2 separate regions of the Homo sapiens genome follow, and region 1 is linked to region 2. Evidence: promoter capture Hi-C in human tissues and cell types (Jung and others, 2019). All regions are on one chromosome and are shown on one strand. Each heading gives the region's core, a stretch centred on a gene start or on the middle of the fragment in contact. The rest is flanking DNA. Distances are from core to core; before and after follow the strand shown. Region 1 overlaps GSTCD (glutathione S-transferase C-terminal domain containing). Region 2 holds the start of TET2 (tet methylcytosine dioxygenase 2).

Region 1 (5,116 bases), core at 1,942-4,441, 580 kb before region 2:
TTGCTTACTCATTCACTGGTTGATAGATATTTGCATGTTTCCAGTTGTTGGTTATTATAAATAATGTTGCTATACATTATAATGTAGCAGTGTTTATGTGGCACTGTGTTTCATTTCTTTGAAAATCCAAGAGTCAAATTGCTAGGTTTTATGGTAACTGTATATTTAACTTTTAAAGAAATTAAAATCTTCTCCATGGTTGCCCTTCCATTTTACAATTCCCACTAGCAATCCATGGAGGTTCCAGTATCTCCTCACAACTTGTCAAACCTTGGTATTATCAGTCTGTTTGATTTTAGTCATTCTTGTGGGTATATAGTAGTGTCTCATTGTAATTTTAATTTGCATTTCCCTATGATTAATGATGTTGAGCAACTTTTCATGTGATTATTTGCCATTTGTGTATCTTCTTTAGTGATGTGTCTTATACGTTTTTATGATTCATTTCATAGCATAAAAATTGGAGCAACTCAGCAACGAGAAAATGAACAACACAATTAAAATGAGCAAAAGATCTGAGTAGACAACCAAAAAAGATACACAGATGGCAACTAAGTATATAAAAAAAATGCTCAGCATCATATATCATTAGAGAATTACAAGTTAAAACAAGGAAATGCCACCTATCAGAATGGCAAAAACCCAAAACACTGACAACTCCAAATGATGGTGCGCATGTGGAACAACAGGAACTCTCATTTACTGCTGGTGGGAATGAAAAATAGTACAGCCACTTTGAAAGACAGTTTGGTAGTTCCTTACAAAGGTAAATATACTCTTACCATACAATCCAGTAATTGTGCTTCAAATGAGTTGAACATTTATGTCCACACAAAAACCTGAACACAGATAGATGTTAATAGCATCTTTATTCATAATTGCCAAAACTTGGAATTAACCAAGATGCCCTTCAGTAGATGAATGGATAAACTGTGGTACAGCTATACAATGGAAAACAACCATCAATAGAAAAAGAAGAATACAATAATTCCAAAAAGAATCAATATAAATAACAATGGCATTTGCAAATGTCTATAAACAGTACAACTGAAAATCATTTTGGAAAACTTTACATCTTATATTCAATTGTCTACATCTTTCATTGGTAGTATGTTTTTACCCCTCTCTAAGAACTCCTCTATAATCAACTGCATTCCAATCTGGAAACCCTTTCATCTATAATTCATGGCCATGAACACATTCCTCTGTTCCTGACCCTCTATATACTTGATAAGTTCTTAACACACTGCATATAGAGAGTTAATTGGACAACATTATATCAAAAACCTAAAATCCTTAATATATACTTATGCAAATTAGTTTAACTGTTTAATGGGGAAAGAATTAAAATAAGTATTAAATTCCTCAACACAAATAATGTAACACGTTTAAATTATCACAATTTAATATCTGTAGTCTGCAATCATTGATGTATTTTGAGGGGTCTCATAGAAATTTTGTAGCTCACTGCAGAAGTGTAAAAATGGAGAGCTTGTACTATTAATAATGATCTAAAGTTCCATTTTTTTGTGTTTGTGAAACTACCTTCTCTGTATGTGTGAACTATTAGGCATAATCTAAATGATATTCCTTACCAATAATGTAAGAAGCATCTTTCAGAACCATATTTTTAAAAATTACACAATGAGGTAAGGAGAACATTTTACTAAAGAAAATAGTAAAAAGATAAAAGAGAAAATTGTAAATATTTAAAACTAAAAAAGATAACTAGCACTATAGAATTTTTTTTTTATAAAGCAGCACTTAAAGTAAGACTTTTATTTTTTCAAATTAGAAAAATTTTAAATTGTTCTTCCTGATACAAACTCATATATTTTTGTTTTCTCTTGGTCAGATGCTTTCTCCCTAGCACTACCACCAAATTCTATTTTCTTGAAAATTTAGAGTGTTCTTGCTTCTTTGAGAGGCAACAAATGTTTCCGTAGAAACCATTATGATGTCTCAAACACATTATGACTTATGATTATGAACAGATTATGAACAGATTATGACCTTTAAATAAAAAGGTCAAGTCACAGGAAATCTCTACAGATATATTTCACAATAATATCAGAGCATGAGACAGAAAGGACAGAAAATAAAAAATTCATACATATATATTATACTGTATTTTAAGTGGACTTTAAGATTAAATGAGCACAAGTAATTGATTATAAGAACAAGGACTGTAACTCTCTTTGAATACTGAAGCACTTAAAACACTGCCTTGCAAATAATACCCTGTTGAGTGAATGAACAAATGATAAAGAATCCATTTGTTACCTTCAGAGAGTAATCCCCTCAGTCAGTATTTTTCAAGTTGCTATTTATCACTCATTTAGGGGTTGTGAAATCAACATAGTAGGTTTTTAAAAAATGAAATAGAAAATATCAGAGTACACATCCTATAAGTTATTTTGTAATTATTTATATATTTTTTTACATATTATTTAAAGATATACATTTATTTCTATAATTATCCAACTTGTAAAATGTATTACAGTTGTCCCTCAGTATCCATGGAGGATTGGTTCCAAGACCTGTATCAGAAACCCAAATCCACAGATACTCATACTCATGTCCTTGATATAAAATGGTATAGTATTTGCATATAACCTATACACATCCTCTCCTATACTTTAAATCCTAGATTACTTCTAATACCTAATACAATATAAACACTGTGCAAATAATTGTTATTCTGTATTGTTTAGGGGATCACGACAAGAAAAAAGTCAGTACATGTTCAGTACAGATGCAATTTTTTTTCCAAATATTTTAAATCTGCGGTTGGTTGAATACATGAATACAGAACCAATGGATATGGAAGGCCATCTGTATTTACTGAGTTAAAGTAAAAAAAAAGTTTGAAAAATACTCTCTAAGGTACCCTGAGAGCCAAAAAGTTTATTAATTCTCTCAAGAATTGTGAATTGCTTGGAAATAGATTAGGTGCTAAGGGAATGGATCTTTAGACATGATAATCACACAAGAAATTTTCTCTTTTCCTCATCTTTCCTGTACTCTTCGTTCTAGTGACTTATTTTTATTTGTTAGATGTACGTGGCATCTTTCCTTTCTTTTGAAATGAAGTTGCAATTAAATAACAATAATTCATGTTTACAAGAAATTGAGGAGGTTTACTCTGACAGGTCACTCCATTTATCAACATGCCAGGCCACTCTACTAATATCCAGATAGCTCAGAAGGTACTGAACCACATTCATTACACTCATGAAGATATATTTAAGGAAGTTGCTAATGAAAACTCTGTGAAATGAAAATTAAATTTCTTCATAAGGAATGATTACCAAATAGTTACCTGGCTCATAAGATCAAAACCATTATAAATATCACAGAGTTCTTTAAGGACAAGAAAAAAAAAAGATGATCTATTTTTAAAACAAAGGTTTAAAAAAAAAGCATAGCTATCAAAGCAAAAATAAAATTTTAGTAACTCTGTAGTTAATTGTCAATAAAGGGCAGAAAAATTTGTCAGAATAAAAAGAGAAGCAAGATGTTGCATCTATTCAAAATATCTCCTCCTTTGCATTCCTTTACAATCACTTACTATATAAAATATTTGTTCTTATTTTATATCATTTCCTTAGTCATACTTCCTTTTTTGAAAATATACTCACAGATGTTTAGGTGAGCAGTGTAAGCAGAGAAAAAACAGTAAACAACCTATCTAAATGAAAATATAATCCCAGCTCTCTGTTTTTTACTTATAAATTAGAACTAGTGAGTTAAAGCTAAAAGCTCTTGAGGACCTAATGAATAGGAATAGACACAGAAAATACAAATTTACCACTAAATAAGTGGCATCAACCATTTTTGCAATATGCCAGCAAAAAGTGAGGTTCCCAACTTTATGCCGATGGGAACACAGGAAGAGGTATTTAGTTTTGCTAAAAAATCAATTTCTAAAAGAGGAATGATTTTACCTAAGCTAATAAAGATGTCTGTGTGTGTGTGTGTATGTGTGTATTTAAACTCAATTCAAAGCATTAGAAGTTAAAATGTAGAAAATTAAATCATAAGTGGTCAAATTACAAGATTTTATAAAATGATAAAATGCAACTTTCTGTCTTATAGGCGTACAATAATGTTTTAAATATTTCTGTCAAAGTGTACTTGCTTACTAGTAGCAACTGAAAAATAATATACAATCTTCTAGTATTGGAACAGTAGGATTTTGCCCTAGTATAGCTATTCATTGCTATTTCTCCCATAATGTTGATACGCTATCTACTAGAAAATTCTAGCAAATAAATTGAATGGGGGGAAACATGAGTGTACATATTAATTTATTCCTTTTAAATCTATTTCTAAGACTTTTCAGAGGAGAGGGTATCGTCAGGCCCCTTTCCTTATGAGGTGCTGAGCCATCAGGGGTTAACTTTGTAAAGTAATAAAGTATTTTCTGAAAAGGAAGAGCTTGCAGCAGGTTTATATATAATACCTTAGCATTTCCATGTTTGTCTCTGACAAATTAAAAAAAAACAAAAAAAACACCTCATCGATTCTACTTGTTATTGTTTTCCATCTTTGGTTTTATTCTGTTTAGCAGAACTGGGTATTTTCCCTAGTTCTTCTAATTTTGACCCTTAGTAATTCAAACCTTGATTTAGCAAAATTGACTCTTACTTTTATGTCCTTGACTTTATTCCTGCGACTAAATATTCTGTCCCTAGATTCAGTTTTATGTTTCTGGTAACTTGACCTTGATTACGGATGTTGAACTTGATCCTGATTCTGATCATTTGGATGGCCACTCCATTCACCTCAATGTATGTTAATGCAAGCAAAAAGGCTTGCCAACATAACCACTATATGAATTAAAATGACTACTTTATTACCCAAGATGATTTAAAGAGAAAAATATAACAAATATCAAGGGTTTATCAAAGAAGGATGAATTCTGGAAAACATGAGGTGGGCGGATCACAAGGTCAGGAGTTCGAAAGCAGCCTGGCCAACATGGTGAAACCCCATCTCTACTTAAAAAATACAAAAATTAGCCAGGCATGGTGGCGTGCACCTATAATCCCAGCTACTTGGGAGGCTGAGGCAGGAGAATTGCTTCAACCCAGGAAGCGGAGGTTGCAGTGAG
Region 2 (4,689 bases), core at 1,903-4,402:
GGAGTCTTAGAAGAATTGATAGGGAACTTTTAACTTCAACAAGTGAAACTAAAACATTAACTCCAGTTGTTGTTACCTAATACAAGACCAGTGCCCAATAAGGACTTTGGAATTCTTTCATAACAACTCCTTGGCAGGTGCACTTCACTTGTTCTGGAAGTGATATTCACTTGCCAATGTCTAGTAGGACCATGTGCCACTGCCTCAAAATCATATCAATTCCTCCGGCTTCTGGCATAAACTGGCACATCAGACCTAATTAAAGCCTTAAGAAGAGTTTGGCAAATATGACAATTTAAACAAAGCAAGGGATTTCTCTCACTGCAACTTAATTTCTCATTGATGATTAGTTCAATAAGAAAATAAGCAAAACAATGTCATAGTTAAGAAAAGCTATCTATCTTGTTATTGTCCATTATCATGTTCCTAAAATTCAATAACCCAAGACAGTCCTATGGAATTTTTGGAGCACCTAGGTAGTATGATCACATATATGGTAAAGAAAGAACTGAGGTTATGTCTTTTATTGTAAACTACCCCATACTTATTAAAATAATTTCTCTTTTCCAACAAAGGATAAAGTGACTAACATACACATCTCTTCCTTATAATCACTGAAATACTTTATACAGTATTAATTAGCAGCTATTTTCAGTATAAAAGTAGGATGCACAAAATAACAAGAATCTAAATTTGATGACAGGAAAAAACAAGCCTTCATAGTTGTATTCAAAATTATTAACCAATGTAGTTATTCTTATTTATTGAGTGGAAAATGTTGTATCTATTATTAGTTGAGTAGCCTGAAGACAGTATATACCACAACATTTGAAAAGTTGTCCCCAAAAAGTAAATATTAGTTTGTTAGCAAAAGGAATTGTTTTTAATTCTGAATTGCTGGAATAATTAACCATAGTTTTCTCGATAGTTTACCATGAACAGCATTAATGGTAAAATCCTAATTTTTGTTTTAATTTTAGGGCAAATAAGAACTAACCAATGAACCGTTTCTATTCCACAGAGATGAGTAATGCTTCTCCCTTGTAATCATGTGAAAGAACCCCACGTATCAATGATTAAAGCAAACTACATTAAATTAACAAAGATCAAAATAGAAAGTTACAAAGTGAACTATCGAGGACAAATAGTTTTGGAAATTCGACTTATGGAGAAATATCTATTATTGTGTTTTTCCTTCTATCCATTTTTTAATCCTATAAATTGTCTTCTAAACTTCAGTTTGATTATCCAACACTTCATTAACCGTTCTCTGCTTATTAACATTTAAAAAAATCAATATTTATTGTGTTTAAATTTATATTCTATTCCAAACATTATTAAGCACACATACAAACATGTAAAAGAACATAACTCCCCTTAGTATTTCAACTTTCCATTAAAATGCAAATGTAATGATTTCATTAGCCAGGCAACAATACCCACAGTATCACACCAAACCAAACCAATGTCTTTTCTCTGTGAATCCCAACTTCCCTTAAGATACAATCTTATTCCTATGATGGATCATTTGTTGATGAATATCTTTGAATTTGGGTTTCCCATTATAATCCCTGACTGAAGGGGAAAAAGCACAATGTGTGATTTGAGATATTAAATTCATGAATGTATTCCACTCCCTAGACACGTAAATATATAAATATTTCACTAAATTTTATGCACTAAATTTTACCGCTGGAAAATAAGCCTTTTCTCAATTCTTAAACATTAGATGAAGAAGGGAGAACTCCCTCAATGTAATTAAAAGTATATCATGAGGGGAATAACCAGCAAATAACACTTATATTTCATTTTCGGCCTTTCCAGGAGTCTATCCAGGCCACACTTCATTATGTCATAGGTAGAAAACTCTCCATACAAACCCTATTAGCTTAATAAAACTAGACAAGCAGTCCCAGTGAAAAGATTCAGCAAGATGCGAGTGAGGTGTGTGTGTGTGTGTGTGTGTGTATGTGTATGAGAGAGAGAGAAGAAAGAGTAGAGAGGAGACACAGAGAGAAAGGCAGAGAGATGAAAGACCAAAGAGAGAAGCCAAAGAGAAATTTGGATGGGACTGTTATAAATCTGCTCTTCACTTCTTTGCTGGGATTGGGTTTCATTTCTTTAGGCGCCCCTGACCTTGCAGTCTTGCAACTCCAACGCTGCGCTCCCCACCCCCTCCCGCCCCCTCCCCGGGCCTGCGCCTGCCTTTGTGTCTGCCTGTCACTTACCAAGGAACCAAACGAAGCTGATTCGGGAGAAGCACAAAGCCGGGACACAGATTTGTCCATAAATTCTCTTACATACATTCCCCAGGCTGGAAGGCTCAGCCCAGCGCTGACTTATGTACCTTGAGAAAAGTGAGTTCTGGTCTTGTTTGGGGAACCAGAGAAACTATTCTTTCCTCTTTCACTCAGCGCCGCTAACAAAACGCGCGGACTTAAGGAAAAAAAAAACCCACTCAGTGTACTCCAATTCCACTCCCTGTGACATTCACTTCGTACAGCCCCCTAAAGGGGGATAAGAAGGTAGGAGGAGGCAGACACAAACCCAGACCCAGACCCTACAGCTGATAAAAGGGTCGAAAAACACCCTATCAGTGTTCTCTCTGAGGTTGTTCAGGATAAACGGGAGACTCGTTTCACTTACACGAAAGAAACAGGGGAAGAGGATTAAAGGGAAAAGTAGTGCCCCCAAAGCTGAACTATTTTAGAAAGGAAAGCAAATTTAAAAATCACTTTTCTGAGGATTAAAAAAGGCCGGGAAACCGGCTCGTCGGAGGCACAAAGGTAAGTTTTCTGGGAGATGAGGGGACGAGCATTAGGAGGAGAGAAGAGAACACAGAACTACAGGTTTAAAAGGGGTAGAGGGAATTAAAACTATATTTGTCAGCCATGTTGAAGAGGCTCCAGTAATTTGTGAAGCTTCCCTCTTCCCTCTTGGTATTTGTGGGTGACACTACAGGGTTTGCTCCCCAGTCCCTGGAAGCCCGAGAAAAAGCGAAGGGGAGAAGAAAGGGAGAGTTTCGCGGCATAAGAGAAGCGCTCTGACCTCGTTCTCGTCCCTCAGCCTTGCAGCAATCCAGCAGTTGCAGTCGGGTCTCCTTTCTAACAAATCCTAAAGGGCAGCCATCTTGCTTCCTTCTGCTTCTCTACGAAAGCAGCCTAGCCTCCGCATCAATATTCATAAGGCAGTTTGACGTCTGTTCTCATCACTCAGCGGGGCCGGCGTCTCGGGGCGGCCGCGCCGAGGGGGCGGACGTGACTTGCATGCGAGCGGGACCCGGGCGCGCGGCGCTCGCGAGGAGGCGGCGGCGGCCGCCCAAGCTCTCGCCGCTGCCACTGCCGCTACCGCCGGCTCTCCTCCTCCGCCCGGGCCTCCTCCTGCTCCGCCCCGGCCTCCTCCCGCTCCGCCCCGGCCTGCGCCGCCGCCCTGGGGCCCTCAGCCCCGGCTCCCAGGGAATTAGCCCCCCGCACCGGGCGTCCAGCACAAAGGCCGGCGGCACCTGGGGCCGTACAGCGGGGCGCGCAGTGGAGACCTGGGCTGCCCTCACGCCGTGCAGTGGCGCGGGGGGAGTGGTGCGCCCGGACCAGCGCGGAGTAGGGGCCAGGGCTGGCGAGCGCGGGGAAGGGTGCAGCCCTCGGGAACCCCGGGGACCTCGGCGGGTCTCCACCCCTGGGAGAAGAAGCAGAGCAAGCGCGAAGGTTGGGGGCGAGGTGGGAGGTTGGGATGGCACGGGTGCCTGGACAAAGACGTGACATCTAAGATTTCCCTTTGAAACTTTTTGCTGGTCTGCACTCCACCACCACTTCGAGGTCCCGCGCACACGCCCCCGCGCGCACCCACCTCCTCCGGAGTGTACCCGCACGTGCCCTCGCTCTGGCCCCCGCCTCCACCCACTGGCACCTCTCCCCGCACCACACCTCCGCTTGCGCCCACCTTACCCTCAGAGGCCCGCGTCTCTATCTCCCTTTAGATCCCGTTGCCCGCGCTCTCCTTTCCCTTTTCTGTCGCTTTAATCTCATTCAGCAGAAGCGCTCCCCTGTTTCACCGAGGGCATGCCCTTAGTGCTTTAGGGGCCTGTATTTTTAAAGACCCGACAAACTGGGAAATTGACCGAGTTCTGTTTCTCCCCGCCCCGGCCCACCTTCTGTTTACTTTAGCCACGTGGGCTGAGTAGAAGGGGGCGTCTCACAGATTGAAATAGGTTTCTCACTAGTGACCCCCTACTTCTCGCTAGGAGGAAATAAACCTGCACTTTCAAATGCTTAAGTTGCCTCTCGTAAGAGCCCTTACTTTGAAGTAGTTTCCCCCCGTACAATTAAGTAATGAAGAAACCGACCGATACAGAGCTAATTCCGAATGACGGATGCTTGATTTTCCCTGACATTCGGAGCTCTGTAACTATGCTCTTCCTTTGACCGGAGTTTTTCTCTATTGCCGAGTAGTGTTACTTCCCCCTTCTAATGCTCCTTTTTCTAATCATCAACTTTTTATTTGAAGATGAGATGAAGAACAAAGCCCATATGAGTCATAGTAAGTATCATATTACGTCAGATAGTCGTTTTTGAAATATTCCCTTCATCTTTTACATGTTCTTACATGACTGACGTTCAAATTTTAAGTGGGTATTTTGGTCACATCTTTTATGGGATCACTGCATGGTGATCACAGTACCCTTAAGTCAATACT

Evidence for each region. The method cuts DNA at HindIII sites, captures the fragments that hold promoters and counts their contacts. A contact is called where the count stands out against the background at its distance.
Region 1: a fragment that was not itself captured here is called in contact with the fragment with the promoter of TET2 in region 2 in 1 of the 25 tissues and cell types used here (spleen).

What each region holds. Positions count from the first base shown.
Region 1 is chr4:105,721,043-105,726,158 of GRCh38, reverse strand. The region is part of intron 3 of GSTCD (glutathione S-transferase C-terminal domain containing); the gene reads right to left. Among named protein-coding and RNA genes, the nearest start is that of GSTCD, 15 kb to the right of the region's middle. The HindIII fragment of the contact is 8,290 bases long and covers 1-5,116 here.
Region 2 is chr4:105,145,339-105,150,027 of GRCh38, reverse strand. It overlaps TET2 (tet methylcytosine dioxygenase 2), which reads right to left and starts at 3,152. Exons shown (of 11, transcript NM_001127208.3): 1 at 3,049-3,152. LOC124900868 reads left to right here. Exons shown (of 3, transcript XM_047416559.1): 2 at 3,067-4,533. The coding sequence ends at 3,755. RefSeq lists silencers at 2,178-2,247, 3,211-3,890 and enhancers at 2,578-2,627, 2,971-3,140. The HindIII fragment of the contact is 6,833 bases long and covers 1-4,689 here.